Linked DNA regions of Homo sapiens: region 1 is linked to region 2. Evidence: promoter capture Hi-C in 16 types of primary human blood cells and fetal thymus (Javierre and others, 2016). All regions are on one chromosome and are shown on one strand. Each heading gives the region's core, a stretch centred on a gene start or on the middle of the fragment in contact. The rest is flanking DNA. Distances are from core to core; before and after follow the strand shown. Region 1 has its middle 73 kb from the start of LINC00839. Region 2 holds the start of ZNF239 (zinc finger protein 239).

Region 1 (5,848 bases), core at 2,875-5,374, 1.0 Mb before region 2:
GATCTGTCCTACAAGAAATGCAAAAGGAAGTCCTTAAGGTTGAAACAAAAGGACATTAGACAGTAACTCCAATCGAAACACACAAAAAATTCAAATGGTAAAAGTAACTACTGTAAGTAAATGCAAAAGCCAGTCTTATTGTATTCTTGGCTTTTATGTTCTCTCTTTTTTCTATATGATTTAAAAGACAAATACATAAAACAATAATTATAAATCTATGGTAATGTGCACGCTATTTATGAAGGCATAAAATGAGACAATAAGAAGACAAAGGACAGGGACAAAGCCGTATAGGAGGAGAGTTTTTATATAATATTAAGGCTTAGTTAGTATTAATGCAAGCTAGATTGTTATAAATTCAAGATGCTAATTGCAATTCCAAGTATTAACACTAGGTAAATAATGACTACAAACAAATACAAAAGGAATTAAAATGGCACATTAGAAAAAAACAAACACAAAAGAAGGCATACACAGAAAAACTGAAAACAAAAAAGATGTAATACGTATGGAAAACAAATAGCAAAATGGTATAAGTCCTTTATCAGTTTATAATTTACTCTAAATGTAAATAAACTAAACTCCCAACTAAAAGACAGAAATTGGCAAAATAGGCTGGGCATGGTGGCTTACACCTGTAATCCCAGCACTTTGGGAGGCTGAGGTGGGCGGATCACGAGGTCAGGAGTTTGAGACCAGCCTGACCAATACAGTGAAACCCCATCTCTACTAAAAAAAAAAAAAAAATACAAAAATTAGCCAGGTGTAGTGGTGTACACCTGTAATCCCAGCTACTCGGGAGGCTGAGGCAGAAGAACTGCTTGAACGCTGGAGGCAGAGGTTGCAGAGAGTCAAGATCGCACCACTGCACTCCAGCCTGGGTGATGCAGTAAGACTCTGTCTCAAAAAAAAAATAAAATAAAATAAATAATAAAAATAAAAATAAATTGGCAAAATAAATAAAAATATATGATCCAGGTATATATTGTCTACAAGACACTCTCTTTAGATACAAACACACAACACAATAGGTTGAAATTGAAATGACAGAAGAGGATAGTAACCTAAAGAATGCCAGGGTGGCTATACTGAGACAAAAGAGACTTTAAATCAAAAATTGTTACAAGAGAAAAACACTACATATTGATTAAAAAAAAAAAAAAACTAAGTCTACAAAGAAGACATAGTAACAGAAATAGAAATAAATCATCCTGAAGTTTACATAGAATTTCAAGGGATCTCAACTAGCCAAAATAATCTTGAAAACCCATGCATGTATGGTAAAATGATTTTCAACAAAGTTGTCAAGAACAGTCAATAGGGAAAGGACAATTTTTCTAACAAATAGTGTTGGTAAAACTGGATAGCCACATGCAAAACAAAACAAAAACAAAAAAATTAACTCAAAATGAATCAAAGACCTAAATCTAAGAACTAAAGGTACAAAACTCATGGCAGAACACATAGGAGAATGGATTCGTGTGGCAATGTTTTCTTGGATATAATACCAAAAACCACAGGCAACAGAAATAAAAATAAATTGGACCACATCAAACTTAAAAATTGTGCATCAAAGGACACAGTTAACTGAATGAAAAGACAACCAACACAACAGGAGGAAATATTTGCAATTCATGTATCTGATGAGGAATTAATATAAAAAATATATAAAGAACCCCTACAACTCAAAACAAACAAAATAACCTGATTCAAAGATGGACAAAGGATTTGAACAGACATTTCTCCATTAAAGATATATAAATGGTCAGCAAGCTTATGAAAATATGCTCAACATCACTGATCATTAGGGAAATACAAATCAAAACCACAGTGAAAAATTACCATACACCCATTACAATGGCTGCTATCAAAACAACAAAAGAAAATAACGAGTGTTGGCAAGGATATGGAGAAATCAGAATCCTGTACACTGAGGATGGGACTGTAAAATGGTGCACCTTCTGTAGAAAACAGGTCGGTGTTTCCTCAAGGAATTAAAAATAGAATTACCATAGGTTCCAGCCATACCACTTCTGAGTATATAACCAAAAGAACTGAAAGAAGGATCTCAAAGAATAGTTGTACCCCATGTTCACAGTAGCATTATTCACAACAGTTAAAAGGAGGAAGGAACCCAAATGTCCACTGACAGATGAATGAATAAACAAAACATGGGTACAATGAAATATCATTCAACATCAGAAAGGAGATAAATTCTGACACATGCTACAACACTGAGGAAGCTTGAGGACATTACGCTAGGTGAAATAAGCCAGTCACAATAAGACAAATACTGTATGATTTCACTTATATGAGATATAGCAAAAATAGTGAAACTCATAGAAACAGAAAGTAGGATGGTGGTTGCCAGGGGCAAGGAGGAGGGGAAAATGGGGAGTTATTGTTTAATGGGTAGAGAATTTCAATTTCCCAAGATGAAAAAATTCTGGTGATTAGATGTACAATATGAATATACTTAACACTGCTTCTGAACTGTACATCCAAAAATAGTTAAGATTGCTAAAGCAAAAAACTAACAATAAATAAAGATGCCTGCTTTGGCCACATATATTCAACATTGTACTAAAAATTTCAGCCAGAGGAATTAGGCTAAGTAAATAAATAAATAAACCCAAATTAGAAAGAAAGAAATGAAATAGTTTTGTTTGCAGATGACATGATCTTATATGCAGAAAATACTAAAGAATCCACAAAGAAACTACTAGAAGTAGGAAACAAATTCAGCAAAATTACAAGATACAAGATCAACACTCAAAAATTATTTGTGTACTCATTACAATGAGCAGTCAAAAAGCAAATTAACAATTCCACTTACAATAGCATTTAAACAAAAGAAATTTTAGGCTTGTGGGCCATCACAGTCTCTACTGCAACCAGTCAACTCTGCCCTCGTAGTGTGAAAGTACTCACAGGCTATACATAAATACATGAGTATGGCTGAGTCCCGATAAAACTTTATAGACACTGAAGTCTGAATTTCATATAATTTACGATAGCATTTAAATGAAAAACTATTTAATAAATTTAAGCAAGGATATGCAACACTTGTACACTGAAAACTACAAAATATTAATGAAGGAAAGAAGACCTAGGGAAAAAAAATCTTATGTTCATTGATTATAAGATTTAATATTAAGATAACACTCCCCAAAGTGTTATCACCCACTCTAATACTTACCCAATCCAATACTTATCAAAAACTCAACATACTTTTTTGCAGAAATAGAAAAGCTAACTAAAAATTCCTATGGATTGCAAAGCACCCTGCTGTGGAAAACTGTCGGTTTCACAATAAATTAAATGTAAAATTACCATATCACCCAGCAATTTCACTTGTACGTATATACCCAAAACAATTGAAAGCATGTATTCAAACAAATATTTGTACATGAATGCTCATAGGAGCACTCTCCACAATAGCGAAACACAGGATGACCCCCAATGTCCATCAACAGATGAATGGATAAACAAAAGGTGATATATCCATATAATAGAATATTGTTCAGTCATAAAAAGGGACAAAGTACTGATATACAACTACAACATAAATGGGTCTTGAAAACATTATTCTAAGTGAGAGATCAGACACAAATTGTATGATTCCATTCATATGCCATATCCAAAATAGGCAAATCTATAAAGACAGAAAGGAGATTATTGGTTGTTAGGGGCTGGGAGCACAGCGGGGAAAAGGGAGCAACTGCTTATTAAGTTACAATACTGCTTATTAAGGGTGATGTGTTTCCTTTTGGTGTGATGAAAATATTCCAGAAATAAATGGTGGTTATGGTTGTACAACATTGTGAATGTACTAAAGTCACTGAATTCTATACTTTAAAATGGCTTGTGAATTTCATGTGATGTGTGTTTTACCACAATTTTTTTTTTAGGTAGAATCCCTCGAAAGTTATTGCAAATATTCCAGTTCTGCCCAGTCTCTAAGGCTGTCACAAAGCCTGCCACATCCTAACAACCCATGATCACCCTAGCCTACCAGGACTGTTTCTTTAAACAACCATGAGTCCTAATGCTACACAATTCATTGGATTTTTTTTTTTTTTTTTTTTTTTCCTGAGACGGAGTCTCACTCTGTTGCCCAGGCTGGAGCGCAGTGGCACAATCTCGGCTCACTGCAACCTCCACCTCCTGGGTTCAAGTGATACTCCTGCCTCAGCCTCCTGACTAGCTGGGATTACAGGCACGCACCACCATGCCCAGCTAATTTTTGTAATTTTAGTAGAGACAGGGTTTCACCATGTTGGTCAGGCTGGTCTCGAACTCCTGACCTCATGATCCACCCGCCTTAGCCTTCCAAAGTGCTGGGATTACAGGCGTGAGCCAATGTGCCCGGCCTATTTGAATTTTTTAATCATATACTTTCTTTTGCTATCTGTTAAGTTTTCCCCTGGACTGCACATGAATTACTCACTTTGTTGTACTACTTTTTTAAGTACCTGCAAGACTGTCATCAGAAGTTTCACAATGTCACCTAATAAAGCCCACCGACAAACTGTTTTATGTTCCAGTTTCACAACTGTAAGATCACAAGATCTGCATTCACCTATATGACATTTTTGTCTTACTCTTCATCAACTCTCTATCAGAAATCAGCAAACATTTTCTGTAAAGAGTCACACAGTAAATATTTTAGGCTTGTAGGCCATTACAGTCTCTGCTGCAACCAGTCAACTCTGCCTTTGTAGTGTGAAAGTACCAACAGGCAATACATAAATACATGAGTATAGCTGAGTCCCAATAAAAATTCATAGACAATGAAGTCTGAATTTCATACAATTTCCAAGCAAAATAATACTCTTGGTTTTTTTCCCTCAGCCACCTAAAAGTATAAAAACCATCCTTCATTTGTGGACCATAAAAAAACAGACAGTAGGCTGCATTTGACCCATGAACTGTAATGTGACCTCTCCTCTATATTTTCCAGGATGTTATTTCTACTTTCATATGAATGTATAGACATTTTTTAAACCTCAATAATTAGTTTTAAGCAAAACTGTGAAAAAATAAACAACTTACCTGGGATGTGATCATATTCCACTAGTGTTGGCAGAGCAGAGAAAACCGAGAGGGTGTAGCTTACAAACAAGAAAAGAACATGAGAAATGTCACTTGCCTAAAAATGTCCACCTCCCAGCTGGCAAAACATCTCTAAAAGGGAGATACTCACACGTCCATGCATGACTCTGGCATGGTTATGTACTGCTTGGACACATTAGTTTTCAAATGTGAAAACGTTTGGTTTTCTACTGACTTATAAACAACTTATGCTGTACTCTAACAGAGTATGCAAACCAATATATTAAACTAATTAAGCAAGTTAGGAAAAGCCAAAGAATGGAACATAATACTTTCATTAAAACTGATGCTAAACAAAAATATTCAGGTTTTAATCTTTATTATAAACCAGAGAATCCCAACAAGGTTTTGAAAAAAGTGATGTGGTATTTTTCAGCCCAGTTTTTTTTTGTTTGCTTTTTTGAGACAGAGTCCTGCCCTGTCACCCAGGCTGGAGTGCAATGGCACAGTCTTGGCTCACTGTAACCTCTGCCTCCTGGGTTCAGGTGATTCTCCTGCCTCAGCCTCCCAAGTAGCTGGGACTACAGGTGCGCACCACCACGTCGGGCTAATTTTTTGTATTTTTAGTAAAGACGGGGTTTCACCATGTTGGTCAGGCTGGTCTCGAACTCCTGACCTCGTGATCTGCCGGCCTCAGCCTCCCAAAGTGCTGTGATTACAGGCGTGAGCCACTGCGCCCGGCAGAGCCCAGTTTTTTTGGAAGGAAAACGAACTTGCTCTAACTTGGTTTCAG
Region 2 (6,252 bases), core at 456-2,955:
GATGAATAACTCATTTTACCTACCCTAGAGACACTTATAGTGTATAGAGAGATATTTCACAATAAACCTTTGGATGTACAAAGATCAACAGAATAAAAAAGGAGTGAAACTCTCCTTTCACTAGGTCTGGAAGAGAGAAGGAAGCTTAGTTCTTAAAAAACACCACAGAGAGTTCTGATGCATAGCCTAGTTGAAAAGCATTTCTAGAGTGATTTTGTAACCACTGTGCTGCCATTTAACGAATTTCCTCGTTTTTGACTCATAGTTAATAAATTATCACTATTAATATGCATTTTTTTGTGTACAGGTAATATAATATGTTCATCAAGATGGTAAGCTCCTTGAAGAAAAGCACCGTGGTTTATCATTCTATCTGTTTTGCTGAGACCACTTAGCACTGGGATGAGTATGGAATAGCTTGGAATGACTTTCAATGTGAGTGAAATGTCTGGCAGGAAAAGGCAGGCTTTGAGAGGCTCCCCAGGAGGGCACAGCCCACTGCTCTGAGGAGTGGAATAAATTCTTGGAGGCAGGATGGGCCAGTGAAAACTCTCTGTGCAGACCCTGGTGACATCATCTGCTAGCTACATGTCCTTAGTATCTTAATGTCCCTACATCCATAGCTATAAAATACCGTACTGGGGGCCTGACAATAAAGAAAACAACACATGGCACAGGGACATTTCAGGGAGATGGCATTTTAGGAGAAATGGAACGCCAACTCACCCGGACCCTGGTCATTTCTTACTCCCAGAGGGGATGGATTCCTGGAAAGGCAGAGTTAGGGAAAGAGAAAAAGCCATGAAAATCAAGTCCAGCAAGACTGCGGGGAAAAAGTTACTCCGCTCCTGCCTCTGACGCTTCTTCAGTCACTTCCACCCACACTCCCTCCATCAGGTGAGAGGTGAAGCATTTTCTGTCACCACCTTCATCTCTCTCCACAGGGCTTTCGATTAAACAAGCCAAGTTTTCCCCCCAAAACCAAGAGGCTAGGTAAATTCCGCAGCCGCCGGCAGCTCGAAGCCGTGCCCATTTCCTCTGACTTTCCCGATCTCTGTCCTAAAGTTCTAGTTAAGAGGAGAAGCTTCTCGGGATGGATTTCGGTTGCCCAAGACGCCTTCCCCGACCTCATTCTCAGGAGCCTGGCTCGTTCCTGCGGTGCGGGGGCTCAGATGCAAGCTCTTTTCAGCGAAGGCAGTGCTGCGGACAGAAACCTCAGTCTCTTACAGGAGCCCCCGTCCGTCGCCTAACGTCCACCGAAAACCCCCCTGCAATAACGCCCGTCACAGGCGAGGAAAAGGCCGGCGTGGCCAACCACGAAGCCCCCAGCCGGCCCAGGCCAGAGCTCGGCCAGGAGGGAGGAGGGGCCATCGGAGGCGCGGCCGCTCAGCTGCAGGGCCCCACAGGCTTCGGTGTGGCCGCAGCCCGGCCCCGGGGGCGCAGCAGCTCGGAAATGCGGCGCCGGGACACACGTGCCGCCGCGGGCCGCGCCTCCGCTGGTCGCGTGCCCTACCATCGCCGCCCTCCCGGCTTCCGCAGCTCGGCGGCCCAGCGCCTTACCCGCGGCACACCCATTTCCTGACCCCTGAACGCCTCTGCCAGCGGCTGGGGAAGCCCGGCCAGTCTCACCTCCCACGTGGAACCCCACGCCTGCAGGGGCCAGATTCCGGATGCTGACCGCTCGCGCGCCTAGGGCCCCGAAATACAAGTCCCAGCAAGCCGCGGGCGAACCACGCCCACTTCCGGCGCGGGCCCCTGAACTCTGCGCTGTGCGGAGCGGGATTCTTGGGCGGAGGGGACCATCTTTGAGTCAGCGACGCGTGTATTCAAGTCCTCCTCCTCGTTTTTTATTACAAACAAATAAGAATTATTTTAGGAATACCTGTTAAGGTGATTTTCATTTGTTAAAATACTATTGGGGGAAAAGGATGTAAATACCCATAATTTCATCTTTACCTTTCAAAACATTCTGAAGTGAATATTTGCCATTCGGCATCTTCCATCTCACCTCTGAAGTTCATCCATTTAACAGATATTAATTGAGAGCCAACTGTGTACCAGGAGCTGTTCAAGATGCTTGCACAAAAGTCACTGCCCTATTCTAGTTGGGGAAACAAGCAATCCATAAATATAGTAAATATATGGCGTCGTGTGTGTCATGAGGTGGTACTGAAAGCATAGAGCTGGGCGGGGTGTGGCGAGGTGCGTTTGTGGGTGTGTAGGACTGGAGGTGTACTTTGCAATTTTAAATAGGGGATCTTGGAACAAACACAGGAGGTGAGGGAATTAGACAAGTGGCTCCCAGCAGTCAGAACTCTCCTAAACGCACACAAGGGTTGTTGATACCAGGATTTTACGTTTATTTCACTTCTCACCGAGTGACACAGAGCTACCCATTTGGTCTTTTCCCAATTCCTTTCTTTCAGATTTATTTTGGAGAGGAAAGAGATGTTGCCTGGACCTCTCTTCTACATCCTCCCCCTTCCTTGGTGTATTAGTTTCCAATTGCTGTCACAACAAATTAACACAAACTTAGTAGTATAACAAACATGTATTCTCTTAAACTTCTGGAGGTGCCAAGTCTGAAATCAAGTTTTACTGGGCTTTATAAAGTCAGTGTTGGTGGGGCTAGTTCCTCCTGGAGGTTCTAGATGAGAATATTTCTTTGCCTTTTCCAGTTCCCAGTGACTATTTGCATTCCTTGGCTTATGGCTCGCTCCTTTATCTTCAAAGTGCATGACTGCAACCTCTGCCTTCATCATCACATCACATGCTCAGGCACTGGCTCCTCGTGGGTCCTTCTAATAACGACTGTTGTGATTACATCAGGCCCAGCTGGCTAATCTGGGATAATCTCTTGACGTCAAGATCCTTAATTTAATCACATTTCAAAAAAAATCCCTCTTGCCATAGAAATTAACATCCACAGCTTCTGGGGGTTAGGACATGGACATATTTGGGGGACTATTATTTTCAGCCTGCGATGCTTGGAGAGGCCCACGTCCCCTTCGGTCTCCTCCTCAGAGATGCTGTCTTACCTTTTGCCTGGGGAACACAAAATGTCTCCCTTGGACCTTACTCCTCTCCTCATTCTTCATTGGAAAACCACAGAGCTTTTCCCTATTTAGATTTACCACCCTTGCCCTGACCTTCACTTCCTCATGTGCTCACTTCTCTCCTCACTCAATTTAAGAGGCCATGGAGCATGGTTATGGCCAGTCCTGTGTATGTGCCGTTACCCTTAACTCTCTTGTCCCAGTCTTTCTTGGTTTTATTCTCTTGATGGAAACCCAAATCTGCTTGAATCCAGTTCCTGGCCTGCGCCTGTACGGCAGAGGTTGTTTGAGAAAACCACATGGCTGGGATGATTGGTTTCATTTTCAGTTTATAACCATTAAGTTCAAGTGGGCCCTTCACGCTGCCTGGCTATCCTTCTACATTTCTTAGTCCATCCATTCTCCTAAATGACTATTTCACAGGTTCTACTCTCTTTTCATTATTTATTTATTTATTTTTTTGAGCCAGGCTGGAGTTCAGTAGTGCGATCTTGGCTGACTGCAATCTCTGCTTCCTGGGCACAAGCAACCCTCCCACCTCAGCCTCCTAAGTAGCTGGGACTATAGGCTTGCGCCACCACACCAGGCTAATTTTTGTATTTTTTTTTTTAAGAGATGAAGTTTCACCATGTTGTTCGGGCTGGTCTCCACCTCCTGGGATCAAGCGATCGTCCCACCTCAGCCTCCCAAAGTGCTGGGATTACAGGCTGAGCCACCATGCCTGGTCTTCTACTCTCTTTTCAAGCCGCCAACAACTCCTCCCATCTCACTGAGTGCTGATGACTTTGCTTTCTGTTACTGAGTAAAGAGAACTTCTATACCGCCTCACAGGCACATCTGCCCTCCTCTCTGCATTAGAAACTGTATGCTCTACTTTTCATTCTGAGTCACTGGCCCTAGTTCCTATATGAGAAAATTCTTTTGCACCCTGGATGTTAAATGCTTTCTCATGAATGAGGTCCTTCTCTCTCTTCTGTATTTCAAGATTTTCATTCTGTACTGAATTATCAGCATACTAATGAATACACTGTAATATTGTCCATAAAATAAATAAAACCCCTTACCTTGCACCCTATTTCTCTCCAGCCACTACCTCATTTCTCTGCTTTGCTTTACAGCAAAACTCCTAAAAAAATTGTCCCTAAGGGATGTTTCCAATTTCTTTTCTCCCATATTCTCTCTTTTTTCACATGCAAAACCCAAAATTTAATTTTTAACTTAATTTTAAAAATTGGTATATAATAGATGCACATATTTTGGGGGTACATGTGATAATTTGATTAATATTATGTGTAAAGATCAAAGCAGGGAAATTGGGATATCTATCGCCAAGTATTTGTCTTTTCTGTATGCCGGAAATATTCAAATGATTCTCTTCTGGCTATTTTGAAATGTACAGTAGGTTAATGTTAACCATAGCTAACCTACTGGTTTATTGAACACCAGGTCTTATTTTTTCTGTCTAACTGTGTATTACACCTTGGTATGTTTTGGCTCTGTGTCCCCACCCAAATCTCATCTTGAATTGTAATTCCCACGTGTTGAGGGAGGGACCTGTAATTCCCACAAGTGGAGGGAGGGAGGTGATTGGATCACAAGGGGCAGTTTCCCCCATGGTGTTCTCATGACAGTGAGTGAGCTCTCACAAGATCTGATGGTTTGTGAGATATGTTTGGAAGTTCCTCCTTTGTTCTTCTCTCTCCTGCCACCTTGTGAAGAAGGTGACTGCTTCTTCTTCCAACATGATTGTAAGTTTCCTGAGGCCTCCCCAGCCATGTGGAAGTGTGAGTCAATTAAACCTCTTTTCTTTATAAATTACCCAGTCTCAGGCATTTTTTTATAGCAGTGTGAAAAAAGACTAATACATACCCCTTAACCAGCCTCTATTCAGACCCCTACCTCTACTCTTTCTGAACTCTGGTTACCACCAATCTACTCTCTATCTTCATGAAATCCACTTGTTTTTTTGTTTAGCTCCCACGTATGAGTGAGAATATGCAATATTTGTCTTTTTGTGCTTGGCTTATTTACTTAACATCATGGCCTCTAGTTCCACCCATATTGCTGCAAATGACAGGATTTCATTCTTGTTTATGACTGAATAATATTCCGTTATGTACATACACCACATTTCTTTATCCATTCATCCATTGATGGCCACTTAGGTTGATTCCATATTTTGGATATTGTGAATATTGTTGCAGTAAACATGGGAATGCAGATAGCTCTTTAGTATATTGATTCCTTTTCTTTGGGATATATACCCAGTAGTGGATTTGCTGGATCATATGGTAATTCTATTTTTAGTTTTCTGAGGAGCCTCCATACTGTTCTCCATAGTGGTTGTACTAATTTACATTCCCATCAACAGTGTACAATGATTCCCCTTTCTCCAAATCCTCGCCAGCATCTGTTATTCCCTGTTTTTCAGATAAAAGTCATTTTAACTGTGGTGAGAAGATAGCTCATTGTGCTTTTGATTTGCATTTTTCTCATGATTAGTGATGTTTAACATTCTTTTATATACCTGTTAGCAATTTTATGTCTTCTTTTGAGAAATGTTTATTCGGATCTCTTTTGTCCATTTTTAAACTGGATTATTTGTGTTTTTACTATAAAGTTGTTGGAGCTCCTTGTATATTCTGGTTATTAATCCCTTGTCAGGTGGATAGGTTGTGGTATTTTCTCCTATTCTGTGGGGTTGTCTGTTCACTTTGTTGGTTGTTTCCTTTGCTGTGCGGAAGCTTTTTAGTTTGATGTAATTCCATTTGTCTATTTTTGCCTTTGTTGCCTATGCTTTTGAGGTCTTACACAAAAAATTTTTTGCCCAGACCAATGCCCTAGAGTGTTTCCTCAATGTTTTCTTCTAGTAGATTCATAGTTTCAGGATTTAGATTTAAGTCTTTAATCCATTTTATTTGATTTTTGTTTATGGTGAGAGATAGGGGTCTCGTTTCATTCTTCTGCATATGGTTATTCAGTTTCCCAGCATCATTTATTGAAAAGACTGTCCCTTTCTCCAACGTATGTTATTGGTTCCTTTGTTGAAAATGAGTTGGCTGTAAGTGCATGGATTTGTATCTGGGTTCTCTATTCTGTTCCATTCGACTGTTTGTCTGTTTTTATGCCAGTCCCGTACTGATTTGGTTACTATAGCTTCATACTATATTTTGAAATCAGGTATTATGCTATCTTC

What was found. The method cuts DNA at HindIII sites, captures the fragments that hold promoters and counts their contacts. A CHiCAGO score of 5 or more calls a contact.
Region 1: a contact is called between a fragment that was not itself captured here and the fragment with the promoter of ZNF239 in region 2, in 2 of 17 cell types (activated CD4 T cells and total CD8 T cells). The highest score is 8.9, in activated CD4 T cells.

Annotation. Positions count from the first base shown.
Region 1 is chr10:42,545,502-42,551,349 of GRCh38, forward strand. It overlaps the pseudogene ZNF37BP. Among named protein-coding and RNA genes, the nearest start is that of LINC00839, 73 kb to the left of the region's middle. The HindIII fragment of the contact is 3,766 bases long and covers 2,242-5,848 here.
Region 2 is chr10:43,572,911-43,579,162 of GRCh38, forward strand. ZNF239 (zinc finger protein 239) reads right to left here and starts at 1,706. Exons shown (of 4, transcript NM_001099282.2): 1 at 1,630-1,706; 2 at 727-767. RefSeq lists a silencer at 1,429-1,488. The HindIII fragment of the contact is 4,716 bases long and covers 1,083-5,798 here.